Linked DNA regions of Homo sapiens: region 1 is linked to region 2. The links are contacts of gene promoters, found by promoter capture Hi-C in human tissues and cell types (Jung and others, 2019). All regions are on one chromosome and are shown on one strand. The core of a region is centred on a gene start or on the middle of the fragment in contact, and the rest is flanking DNA. Distances in the headings are between cores, read along the strand shown.

What was found. Contacts are between HindIII fragments. The study calls those that stand out against the background at their distance.
Region 1: a fragment that was not itself captured here is called in contact with the fragment with the promoter of ATRIP in region 2 in 1 of the 25 tissues and cell types used here (aorta).

Annotation. Positions count from the first base shown.
Region 1 is chr3:48,486,635-48,491,486 of GRCh38, forward strand. The region is part of intron 2 of SHISA5 (shisa family member 5); the gene reads right to left. Among named protein-coding and RNA genes, the nearest start is that of SHISA5, 15 kb to the right of the region's middle. The HindIII fragment of the contact is 5,851 bases long and covers 1-4,852 here.
Region 2 is chr3:48,444,807-48,449,111 of GRCh38, forward strand. It overlaps ATRIP (ATR interacting protein), which reads left to right and starts at 1,931. Exons shown (of 13, transcript NM_130384.3): 1 at 1,931-2,286. The coding sequence starts at 2,040. It overlaps ATRIP-TREX1 (ATRIP-TREX1 readthrough), which reads left to right and starts at 1,973. Exons shown (of 15, transcript NR_153405.1): 1 at 1,973-2,286. It also overlaps a transcript of CCDC51 not described here. RefSeq lists a silencer at 1,876-2,235. The HindIII fragment of the contact is 4,147 bases long and covers 1-2,129 here.

The sequences.
Region 1 (4,852 bases), core at 830-3,329, 42 kb after region 2:
ATAATCCCAGCACTTTGGGAGGCGGAGGCGGGTGGATCACCTGAGGTCAGGAGTTTGAGACCAGCTTGATCAACATGGTGAAACCCTGTCTCTACTAAAAATAAAAATAAAATAAAATAAAATAAAAATTTGCCAGGCATGGTGGCGCATGCCTGTAATCCCTGCAATGCCTGTACTCGGGAGGCTGAGACAGGAGAATCACTTGAACCCGGGAGGTGGAGGTTACAGTGAGCCGAGACTGAGCCACTGCACGCCAGCCTGGGTGACAGAGACAAGACTCCATCTCAAAAAAAAAAAAAAGAAAGAAAAGAAAAGAAAAACCCACAGGTGGCCAGGTGTGGCGGCTCATGCCTATAATCCTAGCACTCTGGGAGGCCAAGTTGGAAGGATTGCTTAAGCCCAGCAGTTCAAGACCAGCCTGGGCAACATAGGGAGATCCCATCAGTATTAAAAAAATATAATAATGTCCATAGGCGCACACACACACACGCACACGCACACACACACACACACTCCCACACACTCCCACACAGATGCGCCTGCCAAGAGTTTTCTAAAACTGAAATTTAACAAATTCCATATACCAATTTGAGGGGAATCAATATCTTTAAAATATGGTCTTCCAATTCATGAGCCCTGTCTATGCCTCCATTTATTTAGGGCTATGATTTTTTGTAATAATGTTTTATGTATTTTATAGTTTATATAGTTACATAGTTTATATGCTTTATGAACATACAGTTTATACGTTTTAATGTTTATAGTTTGTATGTTTATATGTTTTATAAATACACAGTTTGTATGTTTTACAGTTTATGGTTCATAGTTTTCTGTGTAGAAATTTTGTCTTTCCTAGGTATTTGATGTTTTTGATGCTATTGGAAACGTCTTTTGAAATTATATTTTTAATTAGAAGTTTAATAGATTTTTTTACTATACTGACCTTGTATGTCTCACACACACAAAAAAAGAAATACCAGCTGGGCGCAGTGGCTCACATCTGTAATCCCAGCACTTTGGGAGGCCAAGGTGGGTGAATCACCTGAGGTAAGGAGTTCAAGGCCAGCCTGGCCAACATAGCAAAACCCTGTCTACTAAAAATACCAAAAAAATTATCTGGGCATGGTGGCACATGCCTGTAACCCAAGTTGCTTGGGAGGCTGAGGTAGGAGAATCGCTTGAACCTGGGAGGCAGAGGTTGCAGTGAGCCAAGATCATGCCACTGCACTCCAGCCTGGGCAACAGAGTGAGACTCCGTCTCAAAAAACCAAACCAAACCAAAACAAAACAAAACAAAAGAAGTACCCATGGGGGATATTTCTTTAGATGTTAAACAAAACAAAATTTAAAAGCATTATAAACAATTATACCCTAATACATTTGAAGGAAAACCAGTGAAGCTAAGGAGAAAAATTTGCCTTAAAATACTGAAATTATCAGACACTGACATTAGAATAACAACACATACACTGTTTAAAGATTACACAGTGAGATTAAAGGAAAAAAGAGCTTAAAGAGATTAAACAAAAGATTGAGCAATTCAGAGGAAAACTTGAAATATATGGGATACTTAGTGTTGAAGGAGCAGCTTGGATCCTCTTGACTGCTTTTTTTTTTTTTTTTTTTTTTTGTGAGACAGAGTCTTGCTTGTAGCCCAATCTCGACTCAATGCAAGCTCCGCCTCCCTGGTTCACGCCATTCTCCTCCCTTAGCCTCCCGAGTAGCTGGGACTACAGGTGCCCACCACCATGCCCGGCTAACTTTTTGTATTTTTAGTAGAGATGGGGTTTCACCATGTTAGCCAGGATGGTCTTGATCTCCTGACCTCATGATCCGCCTACCTTGGCCTCCCAAAGTGCTGGGATTACAGGCGTGAGCCACCGCACCCAGCCAACTGCTTATAGTAAAATGTGAAAAGGCCGGGCGCGGTGGCTCACGCCTGTAATCCCAGCACTTTGGGAGGCCAAGGCGGGCAGATCACCTGATGTCGGGAGTTCGAGACCAGCCTGGCCAACATGGAGAAACCCCGTCTCTACTAAAAACACAAAATTAGCCGTGCGTGGTGGCACATGCCTGTAATCCCAGCTACTAGGGAGGCTGAGGCAGCAGAATCACTTGAACCCGGGAGGTGGAGGTTGCGGTGAGCTGAGCTCATGCCATTGCACTCCAGCCTGAGCAACAAGAGCGAAACTCCGTCTCAAAAAAAAAAAAAAAAAAGTGAAAAAAGAGAAATGAATTGTTAAGCAAAAAAAGAACTAGAATTTAAAAATCTGGACAATTCTCAGCCTATCCATACTGTAAATACTAAGAGAGTAGTCCAAAAACTGCGAGGTAAGGAGATTAGAATGGGTATGAATCACAGACCTAATCAGTCACCCTAGCACCTGCCAGAGGGGAGAAAGGGGATGAAGTGAAGGAAGGCTGTCGGACATCTAAGATCCTACAGGACTGGGCCATAGAGCAAGCTTGTCCAACCTGTGACCAGCGGCCCACATTCAGGCCAGGATGGCTTTGAATGTGGCCCAACACAAATTCTTAAACTTTCTTAAAACATTATGAGATTTTTTTTTTTTTTTTTTTGCTCATCAGCTATCATTAGTGTGTTTTATGTGTGGCCCAAGACAATTTTCTTCTTCCAAAGTGGCCCAGAGAAGGCAAAAGATTGGACACCCCTGCTACAGCTATTTTTTTATTTTTTTATTTTTTAGCCAGAGTCTCACTCTGTCACCCAAGCTGGAGTGCAGTGGCATGATCTCAGCTCACTGCAAGCTCTGCCTCCCGGGTTCACGCCATTCCTGCCTCAGTCTCCTGAGTAGCTGGCACTACAGGCGCCCGCCACCATGCCTGGCTAACTTTTTCTATTTTGTTCAGCAGAGACGGGGTTTCACCATGTTAGCCAGGATGGTCTCGATCTCCTGACCTTGTGATCCGCCCGCCTCGGCCTCCCAAAGTGCTGGGATTACAGGCTTGAGCCACTGCGCCTGGCCTTTTTTTTTTTTTTTTTTTTTTTTGAGACAGGGTCTCACTCTGCCACCCAAGCTGGAGTGCAGTAGTGTGATCACAGCTCACTGCAACCTTGATCTCCTAGGCTCAAGCAATCCTCCCACCTCAGCCTCCTGAGTAGCTGGGGCTACAAGTGCATGCTACCATGCCCAGCTAACTAAAAAAAAAAAATCATGGAGACGAGGTCTCACTATATTGCCCAGGCTGGTCTTGAACTCCTGGGCTCAAGCAATCCTCCCATCTCAGCCTCTCAAAGTACTGGGATTAAAGGCGTCAGCCATCATGCTTGGCAGCGCTATTTTCAAGGTGCAGTGTTCTTAAAGACAAGAAAAGGACCTCAAAGACAATTCAATCATCAAGGCTGCCACTCCCACCACAGGCCCAGAGTGCACAGGCCGGAACCAGGTTGCCGCCACCTCCGTTTTTTTTGTTGTTGTTGCTTTTTTTCTGAGACGGAGTTTTGCTCTTGCCACCCAGGCTGGCTGGAGTGCAATGGCGCAATCTCGGTTCACTACAACCTCCACCTCCTGGGTTCAAGCGATTCTCCTGCCTCAGCCTCCCAAGTAGCTGGGATTACAGGCATGCGCCACCATACCCAGCTATTTTTGCATTATTAATACAGATGGGGTTTCTCTATGTTGGTCAGGCTGGTCTCAAACTCCTGACCTCAGGTGATCCGCCCACCTCGGCTTCCCGAAGTGGTAGGATTACAGGTATGAGCCACTGCACCTGGCCGGCCACCTCAGTTTTGAAGGCCAGGACCACCACCCAGCAGAGCCATGGGGGTGCAGCCCCCATCACAGTGGGTCCAGAGGGCAGAGTGTCCAGCCAAAGAGGATTATTCCCAAGGCTTAAAGTCTACTGGAGTTTGTCTTGCTAGAATTTAGAATTGCCTGGCACTGAGAACTAAACTCTGATTTTTTTTATCTCGCCCAAATTCCTATCTAAGGGGCCTGGGGAGTCATGCCCTACAAATCATAAATTCTCATCAAATGGGTTTTATTTAACCCTATATATCATGATTTACTTTCCAACCTGACTCTGGCATAACATTAAGAGACAAGGAAAAAAAATCAAAACATTTTACCCCAAAACATGTTTCTTTGCCATATTTTGAAATGACCTTGCAAAGCTGTTCTCTATGGGAGAAAATGTGCATCTGTAAAGAATCTCTATTAACATAGCTAGATCTTTTCCTTCCAGACCCTCCCAATCCTAAAGAGAGTAACTAAAATCTGAATAGGAAACATTTGTCATCTATTGTCTCTAAGGGCAGCCACTAGAAGACTTCAGAAGAACTTTGGGCTCCACAATCTTTATCTTAATCTGAACATTCCTTTTCTATCAATCAATTTTGTCTTTAGACAAACTCAACCAATTGTCAAACAGAAAACGTTTAAATTCACTTATAGGCTAGAAGCTCCCCACCCTCCCAACCCCCCGCCCTTTGAGTCGTCCCACCTTTCTGGACCAAACCAATGTATTTCTTCTTTTTTTTTGAGATGGAGTCTCGCTCTGTCGCCCAGGCTGGAGTGCAGTGGCGTGATCTCTGCTCACTGCAAGCTCTGCCTCCCAGGTTCACGCCATTCTCCTGCCTCAGCCTCCCGAGTAGCTGGGGCTACAAGCGCCCGTCACCATGCCCAGCTAATTTTTTGTATTTTTAGTAGAGACGGGGTTTCACCGTGTTAGCCAGGATGGTCTCGATCTCCTGACCTCGTGATCCGCCCGCCTCGGCCTCCCAAAGTGCTGGGATTACAGGTGTGAGGCACCGCGCCCGGCCTAACCAATGTATTTCTTTAATGTATTTGATTGATGTCTCATGCCTCTCTAAAATGTATGAAACCAAGCG
Region 2 (4,305 bases), core at 681-3,180:
CAGGTCCAGGGCAGCAGCTGCGGGAAGCCCCAGCCCACTTGCTGGTGGATGGAGGGGGTGCCAGTGCCAGGCAAGGGGTTGGGGGTGAGGCAAAATGGGGGCTCACTCTACCTCCTGCTGCCCAGGACTGGAGTCCCAGGCATACCTACCGCTTGCCCCTCAATAAATGCAAAGACAGAGACCATCCATAATGTGTGCTGAATATGTTTTAAAATGCTTAGCTGGGTGTGGTGGTGCACTTCTGTAGTCCCAGCCATTTGGGAGGCTGAGGTGGGAGGATCACTTGAGCCCAGGAGTTCGAGGCTGCAGTGAGCCAAGATCACACCACTGCACTCCAGCCTGGGAGACAGAACAAGACCCTGTATTTAAAAAAAAAAAATTAATTCAGAAGCACAAGTATTTGGATTTCCCTCCCAGGCCCTTAATACAATTATGTTAATAATGCTCAGCTTTCTCTGAGAATATTGTCGAAGAGCGCTCTGGAACCATTATGAGACTGCTAAATCAAAACTAGGTTTTAGAATATTGAAAACTTTCATGATTAATGTACTAGATATTAACGCGGGAGAGGGGGCAGGGGGAAGCCTGTGTTGGTCCTCTCCAGAAAGTTGCACAGCCAGTAGCACCCTTCAGTAGGCTTCAGGCATTCCCTGTGGGGCCTTGCTAGCTGGCACCCAGCCGTATGCTGCTAAAACAAACCTGAGCACCAGTGATTCACACTGTTCCTGAAAGCAAGTTACTTGGTGGAACCTATCCCTCTTTAACAAATGAACAGTCCTGTCTCTTTCCAGGACCAGAGTCCTGCAGCAATTAAGCATGCAACACTTGGGAAGCTATCTGACGGAGACTACCAGTTGCTCCAAAAAATTTTAAACTCCTTAGACATTATAGGCCCTGATAGCACTCTCTTTTTCATTTACTCTTTTCATTTAATGCTTTCACAAATATTCCTAGGACACTCACAGGTGAAGTTTGGCACTGAGCAGGTAAGGCTGAAAGAGTCTTGCTCCTGTTACTCTCCATTGCCAAATTCTCTATTGCGGCTAACTTCTGCACACCACAGCTGCCCAATAAAATCTGTCAGGCACGCAAGCCCACCTCAAATTGCTGCTCCTTTGTGAAGCTTTACCTCTGTTCGCCACCGGTAACTCTTACCTGGCCTTTGTGTGGCCTCCCTTTCAATGTAGAATTCTCGTGTTAGTCTTATGTGCCAGCCTCCTACCCCTCTATCCTGCTAACTTGACTCAACTTGTAGGACAGCGCAGGTGCCATTTACAGGGGGACTTCCTTGACCTCCTGAGCCCTATTCTATACAACCAGAGCTTAGGAAAAAAAAACAGTCCAGCACTCAGAGGAATGGATGTTAACAGCCTGAGCAGCTCCCACCCCCTCCCACACAAGAACAGCTCCAAACATCATTCCTCCTTGGACTTTCCTCCTCCCTGGGCCTACCTCAAATGTACACATGTGAAACATTCACTAAACCCGAAGATGTCTGCACACGACAGCTCTATTCATACTCCTCACCCAACAAATTCCACTCTCCTCAAGAAAGCCTAGGGGTTTGTGGGAGGTGGGTCTGGCGGCAGAAGGAAAGCGAGGTCACGGAGACCACATCCCTGAATGATGCCTGGCTCGACTCAAACGCAACACGCGTGAATGCTAGGGCAGGCTGCTCCTGCGCGGCCCTCCTCCACGGAATGCCAGGGAGGGAGCGCAAAGCCACCAGCGCGGCGGAGCTGGTGCGCCTCCGGCCCGCCTCTCCGGTAACGGGTCGCGCCGCACTGAGTCCTTGCAGCAAACCTGCCGAATCCCGCCCGTGGACCTCTAAACACCGGGCGGGGCCGGGTGTGGCGGCGCGCTCGGACGTTCGTCATTCCTCCGCGCCCTCCGCCTGCCAGCTGATTGGCCCCTGGGCCAGGGGCGGGGCACTCGCGGCGGAGGCAAGCGGCGGCGCGCGGACGGTTGGTCCAGTTCTCCGGCCTGGCGGCAGGCAAGTCTAGCTCGGCGCTGTCGGATACTTGGGGTGAGCGGAAAGCATGGCGGGGACCTCCGCGCCAGGCAGCAAGAGGCGGAGCGAGCCCCCGGCGCCTCGCCCCGGCCCGCCGCCGGGCACCGGGCACCCCCCGAGCAAGCGGGCCCGGGGCTTCTCCGCAGCCGCTGCCCCGGACCCTGACGACCCGTTCGGCGCGCATGGGGACTTCACTGCCGACGACCTGGAGGAGCTTGACACCCTCGCGTCACAGGCCCTGAGCCAATGTCCGGCCGCGGCTCGGGACGTGTCCAGTGAGTGCTCCTCGCGGCCTTTTGCTCGGAGGGAGTTGTCAACCGCGCCAGATCCCCTTGATGGCTGTGGCTTCGGAACCTCGCGGCCAGCACTGCCTTTTCGCCTTTTTAAAATATGGGAACACCCTGATTTAAGCAGCGGTTGTCTTCCAGAAGGTCCTTTGATTTTAGGGGGAAATGCATTAGCCAGGTCAAACAGCCGATTTGAAACACAGAAGGCTAAGTTGACATTTTACGTTATTTTCTAAAGTTTAGGCCACTTGGTTCTTGGTTCTAAGCAGAGATCCTTGGAACACACCTACCACCACCATCAGAACCATCACTACCCATGCATGGGGACCCATTCTTGTGACAAGTTTGAGCGGCTTTAGATCTTATGAAGCCCACTGTCTCCCTTGGGCAGTGTGAGCATGGGAGGAGCCAGACACAGGCAAGAGATGAAATAAATTTATTCTTTTATACAACCAGTAAACTGTGCTAGGTGCCCAAACGTGAGGAACTGCAGCTGACCTTACAATGAACAAAATACAAAAACTGTCCTTCATGGAGCTTACATTCTAGTTGAGGAGTGAGTGAAGTCTTGAGGACTCCCAGAAAGAGAAATGTTTTGAGTGCACCTTGCATCTGTACTTGGGTGTCTCAAGGCACCTTAAACTCAACACGATCATTTCCTGGAAACCCAGTCCTCCTCCAGCACTTCTAGCATGGTGCCGGCAAAGCAGACATTCAGAGAATGATGACCAGATGTTCCACAAGGAAGTAACTAGCACGACTCTCCATCCAGTGGCACAAAGCGACTCTTCCCCTTTCCTTGACTCTACATCTAATTTATTTGGAAAGCATGTCAAGCTTACCTTCTTAATCCTTCTCTGGAGTCTATCCTATTCACATTGCTTCTACCAGCTGCCTGATCTGTGTTACCATGAGTCCTCTCTTGAACAATGGTCTGCTAAATTGGTTTCCCATTTCCAGTCTTGACTCCCTACAAGTGAGGCTTCACATCACATTCTGAGTGATCTTTTCAAAACTCAAATCTGGCTGTGTCTTACACAGATATACGTGAACACCCTTTTTTTTTTTTTTTTTTTTGACGGAGTCTCACTCTGTCACCCAGGCTGAAGTGCAGTGATGCCATCTTGGCTCACCACAGCCTCTACCTCCCAGGTTCAAGAGATTCTCTTGCCTCAACCTCCCGAGTAGCCTCAGCCTCCCAAGTAGCTGGGATTACTTGTGCCCGCCACCATGCCTGGCTAATTTTTGTATTTTTAGTAGAGACGGGGTTTCGCCATGTTGGCCAGGCTGGTCTCAAACTGCTGACCTCAGGTGATCCACCCGCCTTGGTCTCCCAAAGTGCTGAGATTACAGGTATGAGCCATCCGCACCCAGCCATGAACACCCCTAATGAAAGCCCTTTAATAATTTCTTATTTCTTCTAGTGTGAAGACCAGAATCCTTAACATGGCCTGAAAGGCCCAGCCTGGTTTGGCCCTTTCTCACTCTCTGGGTCCTGGCTGCACTAACATTCTTTGAATTCTCTCTGCTTCTTTACAATACAGGAACTTTATACATTGTTCTTTCTTTGTACATTGAGTATACTTTTCATTCATTCATTTCCACTCATCTGGTTAATTCCTACTTGTCCTTCAGCTCTCAGCTCCTTCAAGTCTTCCCTAGGGAAATGTTCCAATCATCCCACTTAAGTCAGATTGCTGTCATATTATAGGCTTTCCTATATTTGTTCTCTTCTGCAGTTCTTAATCACAGTTGTAATTTTACATTTATCTGTGTGATTATTTGTTGAATGTCTTTTAAGCTCTGTGAGTGTAAGGAAGTATCAATTTTGCTCACTATTGTACCTGTAGAGCCTAACATGCCTGGCATATTGCATGTGGTCAGTAACTATTACTGAATAATAAGTAGATCATTGAGTTCTGGCCAATGAGATCTCCTCAGGCTTTAGATGAGACTCTTGGAATTGGATGAAGGATAGGGAAAGAATAATAGGATCTGTTGTTTTAG